Linked DNA regions of Homo sapiens: regions 2 and 3 are each linked to region 1. Evidence: promoter capture Hi-C in 16 types of primary human blood cells and fetal thymus (Javierre and others, 2016). All regions are on one chromosome and are shown on one strand. Each heading gives the region's core, a stretch centred on a gene start or on the middle of the fragment in contact. The rest is flanking DNA. Distances are from core to core; before and after follow the strand shown.

The links. Contacts are between HindIII fragments. The CHiCAGO score rates a contact against its expected background, and 5 or more counts as called.
Region 2: a fragment that was not itself captured here is called in contact with the fragment with the promoter of PARN in region 1 in 1 of 17 cell types (M0 macrophages); the score reaches 6.1 in M0 macrophages.
Region 3: a contact is called between a fragment that was not itself captured here and the fragment with the promoter of PARN in region 1, in 3 of 17 cell types (fetal thymus, non-activated CD4 T cells and naive B cells). The highest score is 6.7, in fetal thymus.

Annotation. Positions count from the first base shown.
Region 1 is chr16:14,628,088-14,633,124 of GRCh38, reverse strand. It overlaps PARN (poly(A)-specific ribonuclease), which reads left to right and starts at 2,865. Exons shown (of 24, transcript NM_002582.4): 1 at 2,865-3,018; 2 at 3,451-3,528; 3 at 4,874-4,953. The coding sequence starts at 3,000. It overlaps BFAR (bifunctional apoptosis regulator), which reads right to left and starts at 174. Exons shown (of 8, transcript NM_016561.3): 1 at 107-174. RefSeq lists enhancers at 1-161, 162-729, 2,329-2,851, 2,852-3,373, 3,374-3,897. The HindIII fragment of the contact is 4,468 bases long and covers 479-4,946 here.
Region 2 is chr16:13,938,629-13,943,665 of GRCh38, reverse strand. All of the region lies in intron 9 of ERCC4 (ERCC excision repair 4, endonuclease catalytic subunit), which reads right to left. Among named protein-coding and RNA genes, the nearest start is that of ERCC4, 21 kb to the right of the region's middle. The HindIII fragment of the contact is 1,658 bases long and covers 1,542-3,199 here.
Region 3 is chr16:14,073,345-14,078,381 of GRCh38, reverse strand. The region is part of intron 1 of MRTFB (myocardin related transcription factor B); the gene reads right to left. Among named protein-coding and RNA genes, the nearest start is that of MRTFB, 4.5 kb to the right of the region's middle. The HindIII fragment of the contact is 5,305 bases long and covers 1-5,037 here.

The DNA.
Region 1 (5,037 bases), core at 1,616-4,115:
GCTGGGGAGGCTCCGCAGAAGGGATTCCCGCTCCGTCTTCCACATCACTCCCCGATATCAAGCCCGAGTCGCCCCCTCAGCACCCCCCAGCCGTGTCGCGGCTTACCATTCCACTCGTCCCGGGCCAACCGGGCCATTATTCTCAGCACAGACCCCGCGGGAGCAGAGGAAGAGGGAGAGGCTTCGCTACCGGAAGTAACAAGACAGAGTGGGGGAAGCGTGCCCCGGCCCCGTGACCATAGAGGAGAGGCCGCTCTCCTTTCACAACCCCCCTCAACCCCGCGACCTCCCCGCTGCCTAGAGCGGCCACTCCCAGCCGGAGGAAGTGGGCGCATGCGTAATACCGCCGGTCCCGCCCCTTCCTCTTCACCCAGAGACCGAGTACCCGGGCTCGGCAGTCACAGCCCAAGGGGTGACGGGTGTGTGTCAGTTTCCGCTCCTCCTGGGCGGCTGTTCTTGTATCCGGAGGATACAAGCTTTGCCTAGAAATTAAAATATTACAAGGCCGCACCGTACTCTCTACAGTTATTTTTTGCCTTCACATTTTATGTAGAAAATCACAGGACTATACGTTCAATTTACGGTGTTAAGAATCGGAATTAAATGACTTTTATTTCTATTAAAATATTTTTTTTTTCGTAGAGATGGGGTCTCGCTGCGTTTTCCAGGCTGATCTTGAACATATGGCGTCAAGGGATCCTCCTGCCTCAGCCTTACAAAGTGCTGCGATTACAGGCGTGAGCCACCTCGTACAGCTTGAAATGGTTTTCTTATCACCACGTTTCGCCCCTTCCCAGCGTCTAGGTCACAGCGTCTAGAACTTATGCTGATTATTTGGTTTTGTTTTGTTGTTGTTGTTTGTTTTTGAGACAGAGTCTCACTCTCACCCGCCAGGCTGGCGTACAGTGGCACGATCTTGGCTCACTGCAACCTCCGCCTCCCGGGTTCAAGCGATTATCCCACCTCAGCCTCGTGAATAGTTGGGACTACGGGCGTGCACAACCACGCCTGGCTCATTTTAAAATTTCATTTTATTTTTATGGAGACAGGGTCTCGCTCTTTTCCCCAGGCTGGTCTGGAACTCCTGGGTTCAGGCGATTCTCCTGCCTCAGCCCCCGAAAACGCTGGGATTACAGGTGTGAGTCATGGCGCCAGGCCCCCATTAAACAGTTATTTATACAGATTTATTAATACGCTGCTTCCCAGTTCACATTCATTAGCACCACTGAGCCTCAATACAATCCCAGGAAATTGAGGTTTAGGAAGGTTTAATGCATTCCAGAACTAATAAGTGGCTGAGATAGATTTTGAAAATAGGTCTTCTAATCAACTTTCCTTTTGTTCGTTTGTTTGTTTTGGAGACGGAGTCTCGCTCTGTCGCCCAGGTTGGAGTGCAGTGGCACAATCTTGGCTCACTGCAACCTCCGCCTCCCGGGTTCAAGCAGTTCTCCTGCCTCAGCCTCCCGAGTAGCTGGGACTACAGGGGTGCGCCACCACGCCAGGCTAATTCTTTGTATTTTAGTAGAGATGGGGTTTCACCGTGTTGCCCAGGCTGGTCTCGAGCTCCTGGCCTCAAGCAATCCGCCTGCCTCGGCCTCCCAAAGTGCCAGGATCACAGGCGTGAGCCATCGCATCCGGCACTAACCAACTTTTCATAGTTGGCTTTTGTGAAAGACCAACCTGAATGTATTCATTCAACCCATGCTTATTGAGTGTCTACTACGTGTCAGCCCAGTGCTAGGCATTGGAGAACAGCAACCCCAAACCAACATACAATTCCATTAGGGCCGGGCCTCATATGTTGCACTCGACATAGTATTCCCAGAGGCTAATGCAGTAGCTAAGGGTCTCAGCTTTGCTTTCCGTGATCACCTAAGTAACAACCCCTATTATTCTTTTAATTTAATTTAATTTTTTTTTTGAAAACAAGTCTCGTTCTGTCACCCAGGCTGGAGTGCAGTGGCGTGATCTCGGTTCACAGCAACCTCCGCCTCCCAGGTTCAAGAGATTCTCCTGCCTCAGCTTCCCGAATAGCTGGGATTACAGGCGCGCACCACTGCACCCGGCTAATTTTTTGTATTTTTAATAGAGACAGGGTTTCACCATGTTGGCCAGGCTGCTCTTGAACTTCTGACCTCAGGTAATCCGCCCGCTTCTGCCTCCCAAATCGCTAGGATTACAGGCATGAGTCACCAAGCCCAGCCAATTTTTATATTTTTAGTAGAGACAGGGTTTCACTATGTTGGCCAGGCTGGTCTCGAACTCCTGATCTCGTGATCCGCCCGCCTCGGCCTTCCAAAGTGCTGGGATTACAGGCATAAGCCACCGGGTCCGGCCTAATTTTATTTTTTTAAGAGACAGGTCTCACTATGCTGTCCAGGCTGGTCTCGAACTCTTCAGTTCAACGGATCCTCCCGCCTCGGGTTCCCAAAGTGTTAGGCTTACAGGCGTGAGCCACCGCACCCGGATCCCATTATTCTCTATTACATCGCCCCGCTCTTTTTCTTAATAGCGATTTTCATGTGTTACCAAATGGCAAGTTTCACTCCTGCCTGAATTTCCCCTTACCCCAAGTTTAAGCTACAATGGGGCAGGGAGCACGTCTTCCTGTTCATCACTGTATCTCCACCCCTGTAAGAGTGGCTAGCATATCACAGAAACCCAGTCAGTATTTCCTGGTCGACTGGATGTCGAGACATGCACATTTTTTCTACTGAAGTGAAAGCCCGCACAAATTAGGCCACGCCTTGGGGACTTCGATAGCCACGCCCCTCCCCTGTCCCTATAAGGAGGGAAAGGAGCCCAGCCTTGGCCCCGCCCCCGCCGCCGCGCAGGCGCTGACGCAAGCGCAGCAGGCGCGCGCTGTTTCCGGAAGTCGCGGCCGGCGTCACCGCTGCGGCTGCCTCAGCTACTGCCGCAGTCGCCGCGGAATTCGGCGAGTAGAACCGCTGAGGCGGGCGCGGGCCCGGGTGGGGCCAAGGTTCCGGCCACTCTGCAGAATGGAGATAATCAGGAGCAGTGCGTGTCCGCCGTACACCTCCCCGCCTCCCCACACCCGGCTGCCCCTGGCCTGCTAGGCCGAGACCATGGCCGGCGTGTTTGGCTGGGCCTGGGGCTGAGGCAGCCCCTCAGGGCTTTTCCCTCCTTAAGCCGGTGCGCCTCTTGGGGTCTTTTCCGGCTGCGGACCGTGCACCCTAGGAGCCTTGTACTTACTCCTCCAACCCCGGCACCATCCGGGGCCTTGTCCTTCTCCGGGCCGGGCACCCCCCGGGGCTTGTCCCCCCTGACCCATGCACCCCTCGAGGACTTGATTCCCCTCGCCCCGGTGCACACCTCCGGGACTTTTCCCCTTCCGGCTCTCAGCCTCGGGAGCTCCTCGGCCCTCCTTCCCTCTCCCCTTAGCAGGAATTCAGGCCACTGGTTCTGAGCCTCTTTTCGGTTTCTCCGCAGATTTTAAGAGTAATCTTCACAAAGTGTACCAGGCCATAGAGGAGGCCGACTTCTTCGCCATCGATGGGGAGTTTTCAGGTATCCCTCCCTTGCAAGCTCAGGCTAGCACTTTGCAGTGCATAGCCAAGGCTCCTTCAATCCCCCAGCCCCCAACTTCTTATGCTTGGTGGTGGCCTCTTGCTGTTAGTAGCCTTGGGCGGGTTTCACAGGTCTCAGTGTTACCCTTTAAACGTTTCAAAAGCACGAAAGAAATGAAGATACGCCGTAGGTTTGTGATTGGACTCAGGATCTCAGATAGAGATGATGGTTTTGATGCTGCTTAAAACAGTGCGGCGTGTACATTGCAGAGAGCTTGAGGATTAGGGTCAGACTGTTTTTTTTCTTGATTGTAAAATAGGTATAACATGAAATTTGCCATTTTAAGTGGCTTTACAGTTAAGTGGCATTAAGTACATTCACATTGCTGTGCAAACATCACCATCCATCTCTAGGACTTCTTCATCTTCACAGTCTGAAACTCTTTACACATTAAACTCCCCATTTCTCCTTTCGCCCAGCCTTTAGCAACCGCCATTTGTCTCTGAATTTGACTGCCCTTAACATCTCATATAAGTGGAATCTTACAATATTTGCCCTTTTGTGACCGGCTAGGGTCAGGTTTTTGCAGATAAATGAGATATTTCTTTATGCATTAGTGGACGTGTTCATTGCCTGCCTCAACAGGTGTGTATACAGGAAATACTTCACTGACACTTAAAGTTGCAAATTTTTTTTCCCCTTTTTTAGGGGGAGCAAAGACTAGTTTTTAAATTGCTGATGTCAATATGAACGGTTCACTCCCTTTGATATGGATATCCATTTTTGCTGTCTGATTTTCCATGTTTGAATCATGAAGGAATCCATGCAGGGGTAAATAGTATCCTTGGCTTTAGGTAGTGTCTAGTTGGAATCACTTCCCTAGGAAGCTAAGAGTTTTCACTTAGAGAAATAATTTTCTCTTAATCTTGAAGATACATTCTTTGCATAGATATTAACCACTCCAAACTCTTGACCAAGACTGGAACTCTGGCAATAATATACTTAGGGATTTATTGATGTCTGTTTATACAGGAATCTTTTAAAGCAGCAAAACTTATTCAAGCATAGAGATTGTTTTCTTACATGATTACTGTGTTTTAAGTCATGTTTTAGACGCTGGAACTGCCTATTCTCATGTTGAAACATTCGCATCTCTAAGTTCATTATTAGAGGGTTTAACCTGGTGGCCACTGAAATTAATGCTTATTTTAAAAAAGTAAGTTAGGGAGTGCTTCCAAGTAACCTTAATTCGTGATACGACATTATAGAGGCACTGAATGATTGACTGGCATTTTTACGTTAGTATTTATTAGTAAGCTAAAAATTTTTATTTCTTAAAATCTAGGAATCAGTGATGGACCTTCAGTCTCTGCATTAACAAATGGTTTTGACACTCCAGAAGAGAGGTATCAGAAGCTTAAAAAGGCAAGTGGATGTGCTAGGAAATCTTTTTCTTTCTCATGTTAGTCTTCCTTATGTTAAATGATAAATATTGTTACTAAACTTGTG
Region 2 (5,037 bases), core at 1,121-3,620, 690 kb after region 1:
GTTAATTAATTTCAACAAGGGTTAAAACAACCAAGATTTTCCCATTGATATGGTCTGGCTGGGTCCCCACGCAAATCTCATCTTGAATTAATAGTTCCGATAATCCCCATGTGTCCTGGAAGGGACCTGGTGGGAAGTGATTGAGTCATGGGGGTGGTTTCCCCCATGTTATTCTCATGATAGTGAGTGAGTTCTCACGAGATCTGATGGTTTTAGAAGTGTCTGGCATTTGTCCTGCTGGCACTCATTCTCTCTCCTGCTGCCATGTGAAGAAGGACAAGTTTGCTTCCCCTTCTGCCATGATTGTAAGTTTCCCAAGGCCTCCCCAGCCATGTGAAACTTGTGAATCAACTAAACCTCTTTTCTTTATAAATTACCAAGTCTGGGGTATTTCTTCATAGCAATATGAAAATGGACTAATACACCCATTAGAGGAAATGAAATCAGAGGGTTCAATTCTTCAACCACTCTGGATAAATATTTTAGAGCAGGGTATCACTAGAAGATACTACTAAAGAACAGAAATTGTAATTTAAAATTTTATACTATTTGAAACAACCTATAAATGCAAATATATTATTAGTACAAATTTTATAAGTAGATCACAAGGGGGCAGACAATGGTTTCAGTTCCATGTTTTTCTCATTATTCTCAATACCAGACTCAAGCGCTACCTGCTGAAAAGCCCTCTGCAATGGCAATGGCTCTGGCTGCCACTCATTACCACTCCATTCTCTCTATTGCACTCTGGTTAGGACAAAGGGCAGACCATTCAAAAAAATTACTGCTCTTCTATTTTTCCTTAACATTCATTTGGTATTATTATGTTGTGTCCCCCACTTTGTTTCTACTTGTTACACTGGCTAAGCTGTATATCACACATGGGATCATCCCAATTTCCTGATTAATTTGTAGTCTGTATAATCTTAGGGGGTTAGAGTACAGATTCCGGTTCCAAAGTGTGTGGATCTGAAACCATTTACTGGCCACGTGACCTTAGGCAAGTCATTTCATGGCTCTGTACTTCAACTTCTTTATTGGTAAAATGAGGATAATAATTTAAAAACTTACCTCAAAAGACTGTTATGAGGATTACATAACATATGCAAGGCGCTCAGAACAGTGCCTGGCACCTAGTAAGCACTATATAAATGTTAGGTGTTATTATTACTGTACTTTTCTTATAACGTGGTAATCTCTTCGTCTAATTATCCATGATTATACTAAAAAACTGAAGATTTGCTTTCAAATAATTCCACAATTGTTTCCATTAATAGCTACAGAAAACAGCTAGTTTACCACTAAATGTTATAACTTAACTACAAGTCGAATGTGAGAAAAAATATATTCGAGATGAAACCTGGACTATGAAGAAAATAAGCCTTCCTAAGCAGTAATTCAGTTTAACAGAAATGTATCGTAATTATAAACAGCCAGTCTCTTGCTTTCAACATGTGGCATAATTATCCAAGTTCCCCTATGTGACAGACACAAAACAATTAAAAAATTCAGATTCCTATTTCTGCTTAAAGCACCAAGCTTTCCTATGTTTGCTTTAGTATCTTCAATGGTATTTTTATTAAAATTTATTTTATTTTAATTTTTAAACAAATTGAGATGGATTCTCACATGTTGCCCATGGTGGTCTTGAGCTCCTGGGCTCAAGTGATCCTCTCGCCTTGGCCTTCCAAGGTGCTGGGATTACAGGCGTGAGCCACTGCACCCAGTCTTCAATGTTATTTGAATACCGTGTACAACATAATCCTATGGCAACATAGGAAAGTAGCACTGAACTAGAAGTCTCTTCCAATGGGCATTTACTTAAGCCCTCATGCTAGCCCATTTTGTGATCGTATTTTCAAAAAGTAAAATTTCAAATAATCTTACCCTTTCCTTTGAAAAGCAGTGACCTCCTCAAAGCTATGTATACTGAGGATGTTATTACTAAGTTTTCTACCCAGGGAGCATTTTACGTCCCTGGGTAGAAATAAAATTATTATGATATTTAGCAGTGTAATCTTTTCCACTTTATCTGTTATCTATAATCTACAGATCTTTAATCCAGCTAAACAATCCTTTCACTGTCAGTTCACCTGATTTGTTCCTTTCTGGTTAAAGAGCCACAACTGCTTTTGTTCTTACAACATCACCCATGGAGGTCTTGGTAAAAGCACATTGTCTCATCTTCATATTAAATTTTTCTCTTAAGTACACAGTGCAAATGTTTTTTGAACAATGCACCTCAAATATGTTTTTGCTTTGCAAAAGAAGCACCTCTCAAATTTCCCAAGTTTCCTGGGAAAGTAAGTATCTTAAGATTCTTAACAGTGCAACTATCTGATTGACTGCTGGGTAAAATGGGAAGATCTTATTTATGACAAGTAGACAATCATCATTGAAAGCATTAAAAATTATGCCAGATAACAGATAAAATTATGTTAAAACCTGGTGCAGAAATTTTTCTATGGATTGAAATGTGGGAGAGAGTCCATGATCCAGGTTCTGCTGAGTGAGGTTTTCCAGTATGTATAAGGCTAATCCACATCTTGTCACTGAGTCCTTTGATGTGTAGAAGCAGGTGCATAAATCAGGAATGGCATGGGATCTGGTACCTTACTACTATCTACTAAAAGTGCTCTTTTCTAGATTAGATTCCCTGATGCACTGGAGAAGAGGCAGCTGCATGAAGACAGGCGAAGCAAGAAACTCACCTACTCAGGTGCTGTCTTCCTCCCATTCTATCAGGCTCCTCTGGCTCTAACGCTGTGCAGGAAAGGATTAACTCAGCAGGCCTGGGCTGCTCAAACTCTGCATGTTTCCAAGAAAGGCTTCTCTCCTCAACACTGGCTCTTGGTCAGCTCCTGGGAGATGAGCTCTGAGCCCCTGGAGTATTCTCCCTGATAAGGTTTTTATATGCCTGAGGCCTTGGGTCACAATGTGCCAGCTGGATCAGATAGTTTATGCTGACGATGTGATTTATCGTAAATGTCTGTTGCTGCTTTGGGGGCTGGAGTCTGAGGAGCTGTAGCCAGCCATGGAGGTACTCTGTGTCTATGTGACTCAGCTCAGTAAAAATGTGGGGACTCAAGGCTCAGGTGAGTTTCCCTGTTGACAACACTTTGCATGTGTGGTCACACACTGTTGCTGGGAGGACTCAGCACATCCATGTGACTCCACTGGGAGAGGACACCTGGAAGCTTAGGCCTGGTTTTACCTGGACTTTGCCCCATGTGCCTTTTCCCTTTGCTGATTTTAATCTTTTTTTTCTTTTTTTTTTTTGAGACGGGGGTCACTCGGTTGCCCAGGCTGGAGTGCAGTGGCACGATCTAAGCTCACTGCAACCTCCACCTCCTGGGGTTTGAGTGATTCTCCCACCTTAGCCTCCCGGGTAGCTGGGATTACAGGCATGCGCCACCACTCCTGGCTAATTTTTGCATTTTTAGTAGAGGCAGGGTTTCACCATGTTGGCCAGGCTGGTCGTGAACTCCTGACTTCAAGTGATCTGCCCGCCTTGGCCTCCCAAAAGTGCTGGGATTACAGGCGTGAGCCACTGCATCCAGTCTTAATCTGTATCCTTTTGCTGGAAGAAACTGTATTGTGAGTATAACACCTTTTCTGACTCATGTGAGTTCTAGTGAATCATCGAGCCTGAGGATGATCTTGGGGAACCCTGACATGAACACTGAAAACCCAATCTGAGTATTTTAGCTCTGTGCACTCATTTCTATCTAGGTGACAATTATTTTAATGAGCGAAAACTTGGGCAAAGGCTGTTCTAAAAAGAGTGAAGGAATGGTCAGGAGGTACTGGCCCACATCCAGTATCACCAATTCTTTGATTCTATCTCCCAAATCTCTCTCAAATCTGTCTTCTTTCCTCCATTAACCTAATCTTGGCTACCACCTTCTCCCATCAGACTGCACTAGCATTCTGACTGGTTTCCACCCTCACTCACTCCTCAGCTTGATGCCAGAGAAAGCCTTTACAAACATACCTAAGTCCCTTTCCTACTTAGAATGCTTCAGTGCGGTCTTACTGCCCGTGAAGCCCTAAATCCTTTACAGGGCCTCTTGTACCTGGGAGCCTTCGTGCACGCCTTTGTTCAACATAACCCCCTTTCCACCCCATCTGCCTAGTATCAGCTTGAATATCATTTCCTCAGGGAAGCGGCTCCCGATCAGCTTGTGGTCTGGGTGAGGTCTTTGATGTACTCTCCTATTACACCCTCTTCTTTTACCTTTGCAGCCAGCGGTGCTCTGTATACCTCTACTTATTACAATATTTATAATAATTTAATGTCTGTCTTTTCCACTAAAGGGTAAGTTCCAGGAGGGCAGAGGCTTTTTCTGCACCACTTGTAACCTCAGCACTTTAATATTAGCACAGGGCCTGGCACATACCAGATGCTTAATAAATACCTGTTTACTCTTTGAGCCTTGTGGCGTGAAGGTCTAGCAGACAAAGAGTAAGACAGAGAGGAGCAAAGAGCCTGGAACAAGAGGCGGCTGGTATAATGCCTGGTCTGTTATAACACGATTTCTGAACTAGGTTTTTGAAAAATATATATACCCACATATACGACATAAACAATCCCATAGAGCACACTGGTAGGAAACATATTTTCATAGGCTGAGAGGACTGAGCAATACTTGTATGACTAGCAGCTGGATGAATCCATGGCCAAGGCATATCACCATTCGAGAGGATGTGAAGGGAAAAGAGGGGACCGCCCATGCACCATGCTGACCCCCATCGTGGGACTCCATGCCACTGATTCAGCAAATACCCCCATTTCCAAGAATTCTTCTCCTGGGCTATCCAGGTTATATGTATATTTTGCACATACACTGAGAACCCGCAGCCACCACTGCAGAATGGTTATCCATTTTGAAATTTGGCCTAGGGTCTTGGCAGTCCTCGCAGGTTGACTACTGCTAAAAATAATTTCTGCCCTCCATTGCCAATGTCTGAGGCTTGGAAGTTTGCTCTGGCCCAGCCCACTCCGTCCAGGCCATGGTCTCTGCTGATCTAACTTTC
Region 3 (5,037 bases), core at 1,376-3,875, 550 kb after region 1:
AGTGAAATAAGAGCTACCTAGACACATAATATAAAGCAAAAAAAAAGATCAAAGTCAATTATTCATTCATTTAACAAACATCTGAATGTCCAATCTTTGCCAGTATTTTGTTGGGTGCAGGGCATTATTTGGTGTGCAGGATGAACACAGTTTCTCTCCTTACAGAGTTTACAGTTCATCAAGGGTTAAGCTGCATGACAGACAAGCTACATGCAGAGACAGATACTGTTTTTGACTGGGTGGGGGACAGTAACAGATCTGAACTGGCAGAATTACGTAGCACTATATTCTGGGTGGGAGGAATGGGGTTCCAGGAAACACAGGGCCTCTAGGAAACATAAGCAGCACCATTGTTAGGGTACATCCAAGAGAGACTAAGGCAGCAAGGCTAGAAGCAGGAGGGGGCCTTGAACGCCAGGCTGAATTTGTTCTCTGGTTTTCAGGTACATTAATTGTCCTGCTGAAACTGAACAAGAGCTTAGTTTTAACTTGGATTCTAATGTCTTGTAACTTTTTCTTTATGGGTCCTTTCTTTTTTTCTTTTTTGAAAGTGAGATGGGTAACAGTGGGAAAAAAATGAGGGAATGGCAACCTCAGCCCATGTTGGCAACAAAGGTGGGAGTGGACCAAGGGCACTAAGCGATGAGTTTCACACGTTTTCTCTTTTAATCCCTCCAGCATTCTTACAGGCACTATTGCTCCTTTTACAGATTAGAAAACTGAGGCTCAGAGAAGTCAAATAGATTTTAAGTTCATAAACTTAACATGATCTTGATTCTTTAAAAAGTGTTTTCTGGAACTAGACAAAACGATTCTAAAGTTCACATGGAAAAATAAACTAGCAAGAATTGCCAAAAAAAAAAAAAGCAACAAGGGGAAACTAGTTTTAAAAGATATTAAAACATTTTATAAAACCAATGTAGTACTGCTATATGAATAGAAAGACTAATGTCATAGAATAGAAAGTGCAGAGATGTACCCCAATACATCCAGAAACTCACACCACCATCAACTGGATTCAGAGATGAAAACTGAAACAAATCGGTAAAGATAACTGGTGGCCACATGGAAAAAGGAAAAGTTGAATTATATATCACTCTGAACACCAGAATAAATCCTAAGTGGATCAGAGATTTAGGTGTTAAAATGAAACCATAAAAGCACTAAAAGAAAACACGGGCAGATTCCAGAAATCGTGGAGGCCTTTGACGTAAAATCCAGATACCATAAGAGATTAATGTTAAGTACATAAAATGTAAAGAAAGCCATATTTAAGCCTTCTTTATACCAAAATACATGAAAGTCATTTTTAAAAACAAGTGACAAGTTGAGGGAAACTGCAACCTAACAAAGGGCTAATCTCTCTAATTTATACACTTATAGAAATTAGTAAGAAAAAGCAATCCAAAAGAAAAATGTGCAAAGGGTATGAACAGATAGCTCACAGAAAAAGGAATACAAATAGCCTTTAGGCACATGAAAAGATGCTCACCCCGATTCATAATGAAAGCAATGCATATTAAAACTACATGGAGTTATCATTTTTCATCTACGAGACTGACACGAATCCAAAGGTTAACTGTTGGAGAGGTTACGGAGAAATAAGGAGTCTCATACATTACTTAGGCAAGTTCAAAATAAGTGCCACTCTGGAGGAAGAAAGTATTTACACCAATTATAAATGCATTGCCCACTGACCAGCAATCCCACCTCTAGGAATGTATCCCACAGATAATGCCTACAAATATACAAAATAATATGTGCACAAGGTTATTCAGCACAGCGTCATTTGTGAGTCTCAGACTGGAAACAACTCATATATTGATCACTGGAGGCTAAACAGCTAAACAATGTATATTTTACAGTTGTTTAGAAAAATGTTTTCTGGGCCAGGTGCAGTAGCTCATGCCTGTAATCCCAGCCCTTTGGGAGGCCGATGCAGGTGGATAACCTGAGGTCAGGAGTTTGAGACCAGCCTGGCTAACATGGAGAAACGCCATCTCTACTAAAAATACAAAAATTATCCGGGCCTGGTGGCACATGCACCTGTAGTCCCAAGCTACTTGGGAGGCTGAGGCAGGAGAATCGCTTGAACCTGAGAGATGGAGGTTACAGTGAGCTGAGATGGTGCCACTGCACTCCAGCCTGGGTGACAGAGTGAGATTCTGTCTCAAAAAAAAGAAAAGAAGTGTAGAAAAATGTTTCCTATATACTAATATGAAGGTATGTCAAGATAATATTAACTTTAAAAAAAAAGCAAGGAAAATATTCACATAGTATGTATATTTTATATAAAAAGAGTATATATAGTATATTAGTATTTGCTTGTATCTGCATCTATACAAAAAAAAGACATGTATAGGAAACAAATGAAAGGTTATTTATGGAGAGAATCAAGACAATTGGAATTTAGATTTCTCAAAATATGTCTTATGTCATTTTAATTTTTGAACCATATGAACATCTTATCTACATGAAAACAATTTGTAAATGTTAAAAGCACCTCGCAAAAAGAAGCAAAAGAGAACCACCTACAAACCAGAGTCTAAGTTTTCTCTGAAATTGGTGACAAGCAATTTTAGTGTGGCCATCACCATAAATTATAAGACAAAGTGCTTTTGTTTCCTCCAATCGAGCCAAAGTATATGATTATAATAATCTATTTTAAAAAGCCGGGGTGAGGAATTAGAAGAGAGAACAGAAAAAGGTGAGAAGAGAAGGAGCTCTACTCTAATGGTTCTCAAAGTATGGTCCTTGGACCAGCAGCATCAGCATCACCTGATAATTTGTTAACAATGTAAATTCTATGGGCCCAGCCCAGACCTACTGAATCAGAGAGAGACCCTGGAGGAGGAGGCTAGCAATCCTTTTAATACATACTCAAGTTTGACAGCCACAGATCTGGTCCCGTGATTTTTATATGTTCACGTGCATTGCCCAGGAAGGGATCTTTTAAAATGCAAATTCTGGTCCAGTTGGTCTGGAGTGGAGCTCAGAGTCTACATTTCAAACAAGCTCCAGGATGCTGCTGACGTGCTGATGGTGTGGGCACCACACTTTAAGACGCAAAGCACAAGTCCACCTGAGGAAGAAGGTACGCAAAGGGTCTTCACGTGATTGAGTTTGCTGTGAAACCTGCACTCAATATTAGACAGAAAAAGTCCTTACACAGGTCTCCAGCTAAGGTATACCACGGAACTAGCTTCCCATATAAACTGTGTACTTCACACAGAGTAAGTATGTTTTCAAATATATTTCTTAAACAACAATAACAACTATAATTCACTGAGATCCAATTTAAGGACGTCCCATTTGAGAAAACTTTCATTTATAAGTGGATCTTCCAGAATGGAAACAAACAAAAAACACAAAAAACCATATTCATACAACTGTCTGGTTATATTATCTGATTAACTTTACCTCAAACACACTAACCACACCATCTGCTCTTCGTGAAAATTCACCAAGCAGTTTGTTTCCTTTTAAACATTTTCAAAAAAATGGTTCTTATATTTACAAACATTGATTCTCCATTTGTTTTACATAAAGGGAAAATCTCTACAGGAATCTTCTTAGTAAAGAATTCTAGTTTAAATGGAAGGGTCCAGAAATATTGTGTATCTTCATTTTGCAAGTCACCCTTTGAATCAAGTTTTTGGTGTTAATCATTAATCATTGTTTCATATTCCCTATTCATGTAGTAAAATTATGTAATAATTTTTACATATTCCCTATTTCATTGACTCTAAGATGCCATCAATTTCAAGATATAATGTCCTACTAAGAAAGAAAAGTTGCCAACCACATGCTAATTTTAAGATGTCATTCTATCTCACATATGCATCTTAAAAATCAATGAAACACCTTAATTACAAATCAGAGATATGTGCATAGTATTCATTTTCTAGTTAACATTTGTGTCTCTCAAATGTAAAACTTCATAAAAGCATGAACTTTTGTCCATTCAACAATCTATCCCCTATGCCTAGAAAAATGGAACATTTTCAATCAACATCTTTTACATACAGGTGAATATTTTTTAAAGTTCTGATTTTAAAAACCAGTAATGACCTCTTTTACCCTGGAACAAGATACTGCTTGCTCAAATTAATATAAATTCATTACTCTCAATTTGGATAAATTTCCATCTCCAAAGTGTTCAATGTCTCTAACTCTAGATAATTTAAAGTATAGCCTTCTGTTTTGACAGCAGTCATTACCTACATGTCTGTTTCCATAGCACCTTTCAAACGTAACACGCAACTAATAATAAACACCTTACATCAAGAAGCAACTCGTCTATTCAACAAAAAAAAGCCAAATAAACTATTATTAAAAGAAGAGTTAAATGTATAATGTTACAATGTAGGTAACATTGTAACATATATAAATGTTATACGTAGGTAACATATAAATGGTCTGAGCTGAACTTTCTTAACTCGATTTGCATTTTCCCCTATGCAGCAAGACTAGCAAAGTTTGAAATGAAAAGACAACTGCTAACAAATCACACCATGAGGACTACTGGCATATGTGATTACAGGTAATTTTAAGTTTTACCTTTGAATACATCTGCATTTTCCAAATTCTCTAATATAGATATTAGTAAGCAGAAGAAGCTATTTAAAGGGTGATTACACTAGTTTAGATTATACTTAACTAAGACTTATTTCTACACATTATTGTTGTTGCTTCCCAACTCCATTCTAACCTCAATCTGCTACTTGATTCAAGTGTTTAGTTGTCAACATTTCCATTAAACACAGCCAATCTTTCAGACAGAGGGACACAGGTACTAACCTGACCTCCCATCTGAGATTCTAGAATAATCAATGAAAGCGCCACTAACCAAAAGCATGCTTTTTGTACGTCAGACACTTCTGAAAGAAAGAAAAAACAAAACAGGACAAAACTCTCAGCAAAAACTGTCTGTTAAATTTCCTTTTATAATTCCTATTATAATTGACTAGATAACACTGATGTTTGGAGTGGTTCTCCAAGGAGCTGGAACTGCCCCCAAGGAACATTTTTAGTTAT